Regions from separate parts of the Homo sapiens genome. Here region 1 is linked to region 2. The links are contacts of gene promoters, found by promoter capture Hi-C in blood cells and fetal thymus (Javierre and others, 2016). All regions are on one chromosome and are shown on one strand. The core of a region is centred on a gene start or on the middle of the fragment in contact, and the rest is flanking DNA. Distances in the headings are between cores, read along the strand shown.

Region 1 (4,806 bases), core at 1,636-4,135, 160 kb after region 2:
GACTTTTCACTGTAAGCAACTCCTGTCATTGAATTCATGACTATACTGGCCCTGGGCTCTGTGAAGCCTTGCTGGATCAGGAGTCTTGTCCCAATTCAGGGGAGAAAATCGAGGCAATATTCTGTCCTTCCTTTGGGAACAGCCACTGAGGGTGCAAGAGTAGAGGATGAATTTTCTTGATACTCTTTTCTTCCCTCCCTCCTCAGAATGAAGTCACATTACTACGCAATGAGGTGGCCCAGTTGAAACAGCTACTGTTAGCTCATAAAGACTGCCCAGTCACTGCACTACAGAAAAAGACTCAAGGCTATTTAGGTGAGTGGCACACAACCTAAGCTAAGTCAGTCAGTCAGTAAACTGCATGTACTGAGTGTCTCAACTGCTTATAATTTTATAACTCCATTCTGAATGTTCTGGGGACCCCACGCTGATGAGTGAGTGGCCCTTGTGGAGCAACCAGACCTAGAAAAAAAATGTTTTTGTAGACGATATAGAGCTAATTATCTGTTATAGTTGGGGGTTGAAGGGTAGCAATATTTACCGGGTGCATATTTTGTGTTAGGCATGCTACAGTCTTCCCAAGTCTCTCATGAAATGGATATTATCTACATTTATATGTGAGAAAACTGCACTCTGCACTCAGATTAGGTCATTTAGCCAAAGTTACCAAGCTGGGAAAGTGGTGAAGCCAAGATTTACATCTATGTTTTGTTTTGTTTTGTTTGAGACGGAGTCTTGCTCTGTCGCCCAGGCTGGAGTGCAGTGGCACGATCTTGGCCCACTTCAAGCTCTGCCTCCCAGGTTCACGCCATTCTCCTGCCTCAGCCTCCCGAGTAGCTGGTACTACAGGCGCCCACCACCATGCCCAGCTAATGTTTTGTGTTTTCAGTAAAGACGGGGTTTCACCAAGTTAGCCAGGATGGTCTCAATCTCCTGACCTCGTGATCCACCCTCCTCAGCCTCCCAAAGTGCTGGGATTACAGGTGTGAGCCACCGCGCCCGGCACATCTATGTTGTTTTTTTTTTGTTTTTGAGACAGAGTCTTGCTGTGTCACCCAGACTGGAGTGCAATGGCACGATCTCGGCTTACTGCCACCTCTGCCTCCCAGGTTCAAACAATTCTCCTGTCTCAGCCTCCGGAGTAGCTGGGACTACAAGCACCAGCCACCATGCCTGGCTAATTTTTGTGTTTTTAGTGGAAACAGGGTTTCATCATATTGGTCAGGCTGGTCTCAAACTCTTGACCTCAGGTGATCCACCTGCCTCAGCCTCCCAAAGTGCTGGGATTACAGGCATGAGCTACCGCGCCCAGCACATCTAGGTATTTCTTATTCCAAAGATACTGTCTTGGCCTAGAAAACACATAAACCACAGATGATACATTGGGATATAGGGTACATTTTATCTAATGATAGGCTGACGTTGGTTTCAGTTTGTAATCTATGAGTGCACATAAAATACTGCTAGAAGGCAATGGCCACAGAGTTGTGCTCAGGACATGTGCAATTCTGAAGTTAAAATTACTGTGAATAATTTGCCTATGGTCAATAAAAGCTAATAAATGCTAGTTTTCTTTTTACAAATTAAATTCATAGAACTATTGCTCTCAAACTTTGATATATTGTATTATTTTTCCACTGTATTATTTCAGAGATGTGTTCCCATAGAAAAGGAGTAACTATATCACCAATTTTAAACATCTCTACTTAAATTTTAATTTTAATATGTACTTCAGGGTGCATTCATTCATTAAGCAGATATTGATGGAATGTCTATTCTGTGCCAGTCACTGTTTTTCATGCTGGGGATATAATAGGGAACCAAATAAATTAGATTAAATCCCTGCCCTTGAGGAGCTTATATTTTAGTGGGTGAGACAGACAATAAACAAGATAAATAGGTAAAATATATGACATGTTAGATAACAGTAAATGTTAGAAGAAAAATAAAACAGGGAAGGGTAATATGAAATGTTAGCAGCAGGATAGAAATTTTAGATTAGGTGGCTTTTGAATAAAGACCTGAAGGAAGTGAGGGAGCTATATGCATTTATATGGAAGAAAAGTACTATAGGGAGGAGGATCAGCAACTGCAAAGATGCAAAGTCGCAAGGTACCTGGTACATCTAGGAACATCAAGGAGGCTCAGCTGGAGTTGGGGGTGGAGAGTAGTTGGAGACAAGTAGGGGACGTAATAGCAGCATTTTATGTAGGGTCTCATCAGTCATGGTGAGGATCTCAGCTTTTACTCCACACTGGGGGCCATTAGAGGGTTTTCAGCAGAAAAGTGATATAATTGATCTGACTAGGCTGGGCGCATGCCTGTAATCCCAGCACTTTGGGAGGCCAAGGCAGGCGTATCACCTGAGGTCGAGAGTTCGAGACCAGCCTGGCTAACATGGTGAAACTGCTTCTACTAAAAATACAAAAAATTAGCTGGGCGTGGTGGCATGCGCCTGTAATCCCAGCTACTTGGGAGCCTGAGGCAGGAGAATCACTTGAACCTGGGAAGCGGAGGTTGCAGTGAGCTGAGATGGTGCCATTGCGCTCCAGCCTGGGCAACAAGAGGGAAATTCCGTCTCAAAAAAAAAAAAAAAATTGATCTGACTTACATTTGAACAGGACATCAGGGGTACAAGGGCAGAAGCAGGCAGTCCACTTAGGGGCTGTTACGGTAATACAAGCAAGGGATGACGGTAGTGAAAGTGACGAGAGCAGGCTGAATCCAGGATATGTTTTGAAGTTAAAGTGATGAGAGCAGATGGGATGGTATATATGAGAAAAAGAATAAAAAATTACACCAAAGTTTCTGGCTTAAGCAACCACAAGAATGAAGTTGTCATTAATTGAGATAGGGTAAAGTGTAGGGGAAATGGTTTGGGAGGTATATCAGGAACTCAGTTTTGGACAAACTGAGTTTAAGGAGCCTATTAGGCTTACAGGTGGAGATGTCAAGCAGTCAGTTGGTTATATGGATTTGTAATTCAGAGGAAAGGCTGAAGATAAAACTCTGGGAGTCGGCAGCATATAGCTAGTTTTGGTTTTGTTTGGTTTGGGATTTTTTGGAGGCAGGGTCCACCTCTGTCTCCCAGGCTCTCAAGTGATCCTCCCCACTCAGCCTGAGTAACTGGGACCACAGGCGTGCACCACCATGCCCAGCTAATTTTTTTTTGTTATTTTAGAGATGATGTTTTGCCATATTGGCCAGGCTGGTCTCAGACTCCAGGACTTAAGGGATCTGCCCGCCTTGGCCTCCCAAAGTGCTGGAATTACATGTGTGAGTCACCACACCTGGCCATAGTTAGTTTTTAAAGCATTGAAACCAGATGAAGTTCCCAAGGGAGACAGCAGAGCTAGAAAAAGAGAAGTCCCAGGAATGAACCATGGGGTACTCCAACATTTACAGTTCATAGAAATGAGAAAGAACCCACAAGAGACTGAGAAGAAACAACCAGGAAGTGAGGAGGAAAACCAGCTACAGAGCCAAATGTGGTATTCTGTAAATCAAAATAAAAAAGTGTTTCAAGAAGTTCAGTGATTTTAAATCCTGTTGCTCGGTGGCTCACGCCTGTAATCCCAGCACTTTGGGAGGCTGAGGCGGGCGGATCACGAGGTCAGGAGATCGAGACCATCCTGGCTAACACGGTGAAACCCCATCTCTACTAAAAATAAAAAAAATCAGCCAGGCATGGTGGCGTGCATCTGTAGTCCCACCTAGTTGGGAAGCTGAGGCAGGAGAATCGCTTGAACCCAGGAGGCAGAGATTGCAGTGAGCCAAAATAGTGCCACTGCACTCCAGCCTGGGTGATAGAGCAAGACTCTGTCTAAAAAAATACCAAAAAAACAAATCCTGTTGATGGGCTAAAGAGGATAAGGACTGTTTATCAGTATATAATCTATATACGGTCAGTTTTCCACTTAGTCCCTGCAAGAACTCTGATACATAGTTAATCCATTAAACTACTTATTCTTTTTTTTTCTCCTGCCTCAGCCTCCCGAGTAGCTGGGACTACAGGCGGGCACCACCACGCCCAGCTCATTTTTGTATTTTTAGTAGAGACGGGGTTTCACCATGTTCCCCAGGCTAGTCTCCAATTCTTGGCTTCATGTGATCTGCCCACCTCTGTCTCCCAAAGTGCTAGGATTACAGGTGTGAGCCACCGCACCCGGCCTTACATATTCATTATAGCAAAGATGTATTTAGTTCCTGCTGTGTGGTATAGATATTATGTAAGTACCTGACACATGATGAATAAGACACTGTCACTACCTCTGAGAGAATCATAGGGTCATATAAACCTGTGGATGAGGTAAGGATAGATATCCCAGTTAAAAAGCCCCTAAACTGGGAGCTTCCTAAGGATAGGGTTCCCGTTTTCTTCTCTGTGTACCCATGCCTGGTACATGGATGATGCTCAGTAAAATGTTTGATGAATATATGCTGTGAAAACACAAAGAATAAAACAGTTAATGTACTGAGGGTAACAAAGATGGCTTCACAGAGGACGCAATATTTGAATCTTTTTTTTTTTTTTTTTGAGACGGAGTCTCGCTCTGTTGCCCAGGCTGGAGTGCAGTGGCACAATCTCGGCTCACTGCAAGCTCTGCCTCCCGGGTTCACACCATTCTCCTGCCTCAGTCTCCCAAGTAGCTGGGACAACAGGCGCCCGCCACCATGCCCAGCTAATTTTTTGGTTTTTTTTTTTTTTGAGTAGAGACGGGGTTTCACCATGTTAGCCAGGGTAGTCTCGATCTCCTGACCTCCTGATCCGCCCAGCTTGGCCTCTGAAAGTGCTGGGATTACAGG
Region 2 (4,341 bases), core at 606-3,105:
GACTTTCTCTGCCACTGAGGATGTGAAGCTGACAGCTTAAAAGAATTCCGTTTTGGTGGGAATGGAGATGTCTGGAGACCTCAGGGGATAAACTTGTGTCTTTGCTAGCCTGTCTTTCTCCTAACAGCATCTCCACAGTGCCTGGCACCACTTGGTACTTGATAAATACCTGTTGATTGATTCCCAAAGATCCCAGTTCCATTTCCCACGTACCTGCCCGCTCGGGGCGCAATCAACAACTAAAACTGGAGATTTGGGGATTTCAGAGGAACCTGTGAGAATCCTGATGGAGCTGGAAATGCGAATTTAGGAAAGACAGGCAGTCTACCACCCTCCTCTTCTCGCCCGCTTCTCCTATTTCTCCCCACTCCTTCCCCTCCCTTTCAGGAGCTCAGGGCCATAAAAATGCAGATGGAGGATCGGTGTGAAATAACGGGCCCATATAAATCCCTCTGCCGCCCGCCTGCAAGATGGATTGGCCGCATTGAAATTCCTCCGCGAGGATAATTAAACTCGGGGCCTCATCCGGGCAAAATTACATTCCTGTAATGGCGTCGCTCGGGGTCCCGGGAAATTGCTCCGTGGGCTTTCAGCGGCGGTTTTTATCGCCGGCCGGGGTGTGCCTGTCTGCGGCTCGCCTCTCCTCCGGGACCGTAAAGCTGCTGCCGTGATTTATCCTCCCCTTCTCCCAAATCCGATTAAATGGAGGAGCTCGGGGCCGGGGCGCCGCGGGGCCCGGGAGCCGGGAGGGGGCGGCGGGAAGGACGGGGCCAAGGAGGGGAGGACAAACGGCCCCTCAGAGAGTGGCGGATTTGCCTTTATTTACAGCCGCGGCTTTCTTTTTATTTTTTATTTTTTATGGGGTTTGGTGAGCTTTTCCCGTCTTTCTCGTGCTGCGTTCAAGCACGATGCAGGGACGGCAGGGGTTTGGAACTGGATAGGCCTTGTCGCCCTGTTCCAAAGGGCAGGGCAGGTCCTGTCTGGGAGACAAGGAGGCCTAGGAAAGATGAGGGCCAGGAAGCCTCCCCCACCTCCTTCCATCAGGGGAAGGGCGAGCGAAAGGGGAGAGAAAACCCACGTTCAGGAGAGCATGGGGGCGGGAGGGGAGGGCGCTGCTTATCCCAACTCGCGTAGTTGAAACCTGAGCAGAGGCTCGGGCAAGCCTGGAGTGACCTCGCAACCTTACAGCGGGTCGCAGGTGCCCGTTATTCCTAGACTGTCCCAGGAGCCAGGAAAGAGGGATTCGGATCATATTTAACCCTATCTTCTGGCTCGCTGATGCTGCTTCTCTCATGGTTTATCACCGGAATGGAAAGGAGGAAACGGGGAGTGGGGGAAAGGGCGAAGCCACCAGAAGCAGCTGCGGCATTTTGCTGACTATTCGCCCATGGAGCCGGTTTGCCATCCAGTGATGCCAGAGTCCCGGCGCGACAGAAAGCAGGACTCCCAAGATCTTCCTCCTGCTGCATTTTAGGCACTGAACCCCAATCCCGACCGTATGTTAACACTGAATTCTGAGTAGGAGTTTTGTTTTGGCAGTGTGACGACTGCGCATGCTCGGAAAGGGGACGCAAGTCCGAGATCCCAAACGCGGTACAGACCAAACCGCAGTCCACGTTACGGATCGGCTTACTCCGCGGAGTTGGCCTCATTTCTGCAGTCGGCGCTCCCTGTAGTTTCTCCTCTCGAACGCCAGGTGGAGCAACCGGCCGGATACCGCCACAGCCCTGGCAGGCGGCGCTGTGATGCCTGAGCTGATCCTGTATGTTGCAATCACTCTATCCGTGGCTGAGCGACTCGTTGGCCCGGGTCACGCATGCGCTGAGCCTTCCTTTCGCTCTTCCCGCTGCTCCGCCCCTCTCTGTCTTCTCTGCAGTGGGAGCAGGTAAGGCCTTGGGACCTAGAGCCCTCTGTGCGCTGCGCACGCGCGCGGGACACCTCACCTTGCGCGGATGCTTTGAGGCGCTTACCTTGCGTGCTCCCACCCTGGTCCTCTCGCCCTTTCTTGCTTCCGCTATCCCTTAGCCTTAGAGTTGGCTCTTCCGCGTGCCGGTGACCTCCAACCGCGCGGGCCTGGCGCCATCTTGGATGTCTCGCAGGGGGAGGATACCTTGGAGCTGGCCAAAGTTAGATCCTGGAGTGCTGCTTTTCACCTGTTCCACCCAGTCCCTGCAAACACTCTTTTCTCGCCCTCTGGCCCTTTCAGATTGTGACAACCCCCAGGCTCTCCCCTCCTATCTCTGCTTTCTCTTCTCATCCTGACTTGTGCCTTCTTTATTCTGAAATCTCCAGACTTTAGGCCCCAGAACCTCAGGTGCTCCGAGCAATGGAGATAGTGGATCGTCTAAAGTCACCAATCCCTCTAGTCAGCACCCCTCAATTTAAAAAGTAAACCTTGAACATGGTAGAAGTGGGAAAAAAAGCCAAAACATCGCCTCCCGTTAGGTTGTGGCTTGGGATAGCTAAGGCAGAAGAGAGAGGCTGGTTGCTTTGGAATCACTAGTTATTTACCAGTACCTTTCTCGCATCCCGGCACGCTGGTGAAGTTGTAAAAGTCACAAATGGTGGGCTAGAGATGAGGGTTTCTGTTGAGGCAGCAGGCCCAGAAAGGTGGGGTAAGGCCAAGCTAGTGGGGCCAGCATGAGACCCTGCCTGCCAGCTTTCCTGTGAAGGATTAATTAACCTCCCCAGATTCTGCTGTTACAAGGAAAAGAAGGTTTAAGGAAAGGAATAGTTAAGTTACTACCCCTGTGACTCATCTACACTGAGGAAAAAGCCCGTGATGATTTTGGAGTCCTGATTCTGGATAGTGCCTTTGCCCAAGTTGTAGGCTAACAATTGCAGAGTTGCCATGGTTAGATAGCCAATGGTGGGATCACTTAATTGCCACCCCTTGTTGTGGGTTTATTATATGCCAGCACCACATTAAACTCTTTATGTATGTTAATTTGTAAATGAACATACTTAATCCCCCTAAGAGCTGCATTTTACAAAGAAGATAATAAGGTATAATTCCCTTAGAAAAGAACCACCCCTTCTTTTTCTAAAAGCCTTAAAGAACTATTGGATTTTGACCCAAGAAAACCTGAATAGTACGGCAGCAAAATTGGGTTAGAGTTACATATAGGCAAAAATCAGAGTTCTAGATAGGACAAGAGTTGAAGACATCCATTAACTTAAAAGTAATTAAGGCTGGGTGTGGTGGCTCACACCTGTAATCCCAACACTGGGAGGCCAAGGTGGGAAGATCTTTTGATGCCAGGAGTTCCACAATAGCCTGGGCAAAAAATAAATTAAGAGCAATTAAGATGTTGGATTCAGAAGTGTTTTAACCTGGGACAATCTGAGTTCAGTTCATTTAATGAAGTGGTATTTAATAGCCCTAAGCATTCACTGAGTATTTCAGCCTGTGACATATTAGAAAGCATGTAACTTAAAAGATCCAAGTTCAAGTCTATCCTCTACCACTACCACAGTTTCAAGACTGGGTTTAGGGTCACGCTCTTGCGTTAAGTATACCTAATAATCATCTGGGAAACTTGTTTGAAATACAGGGCACTTGAGCCTTATTCCCAGAGATCTTTTTTGTTTGTTTATAGACAGGGTTTCACGTTGTTGCCCATACTGGACAACTGGCGTGATCATAGCTCACTGAAGCCTCCAGCTCCTGGGTTCAAGCAGTCCTCCTGCCTCAGCTTCTGGAGTAGCTGGGACTACAGGTGCACTTCCACCTCACCTGGCTAATTTTATGTTTTGTAGAGATGAGGTCTTGATGTTTGCCCAGGCTGGTCTCAAACTCCTGGCTTCAAGTTATCTTTCCGCCCCAGCTTCTCAGTGTTGGGATTACAGGAATGAGCCACTGAACCTAGCTCCCCCAGAGATCTTGACCAGGAAGGTCCAAGTTGCGCCCAAGAATATGCATTTTTTAATACGTACACCACCCAGATAATTCTAGTTCAGATGGGCTTCTCACTTCACTTGGAGAAACCCTGCCTTTAGGTTTTTAACTCACCTTCTGTTTGAGGTAAGTTCACTTCTACCAACTTAGATACCTATAGGGTGTCAGATCTTCTTTAGATCTTGGGGAGACACAATTTAATACTTTTTTTTTTTTTTTTGAGACAGTTTCCCTCTTGTTGCCCAGGCTGGAGTACAATGGCGCAATCTTGGCTCACCGTAGCCTCTGCCTCCTGGATTCAAGCAATTCTCCTGCCTCAGCCTCCTGAGTAGCTGGGATTACAGGCATGCACCACCATGCCCGACTAATTTTGTATTTTCAGTAGAGACGGGGTTTCTCCATGTTGGTCAGCCTGGTCTCGAACTCCTGACCTCGTGATCTAC

What was found. Contacts are between HindIII fragments. The CHiCAGO score rates a contact against its expected background, and 5 or more counts as called.
Region 1: a fragment that was not itself captured here is called in contact with the fragment with the promoter of ATP5MC2 in region 2 in 3 of 17 cell types (megakaryocytes, endothelial precursors and M2 macrophages); the score reaches 7.2 in megakaryocytes.

Annotation. Positions count from the first base shown.
Region 1 is chr12:53,518,785-53,523,590 of GRCh38, reverse strand. It overlaps ATF7-NPFF (ATF7-NPFF readthrough), which reads left to right. Exons shown (of 15, transcript NR_159377.1): 11 at 207-315. It overlaps ATF7 (activating transcription factor 7), which reads left to right. Exons shown (of 12, transcript NM_006856.3): 11 at 207-315. Among named protein-coding and RNA genes, the nearest start is that of ATF7-AS1, 7.2 kb to the right of the region's middle. The HindIII fragment of the contact is 8,402 bases long and covers 1-4,806 here.
Region 2 is chr12:53,673,597-53,677,937 of GRCh38, reverse strand. It overlaps ATP5MC2 (ATP synthase membrane subunit c locus 2), which reads left to right and starts at 1,855. Exons shown (of 5, transcript NM_005176.7): 1 at 1,855-1,885. RefSeq lists enhancers at 1,364-1,593, 1,704-2,153. The HindIII fragment of the contact is 5,549 bases long and covers 1-4,341 here.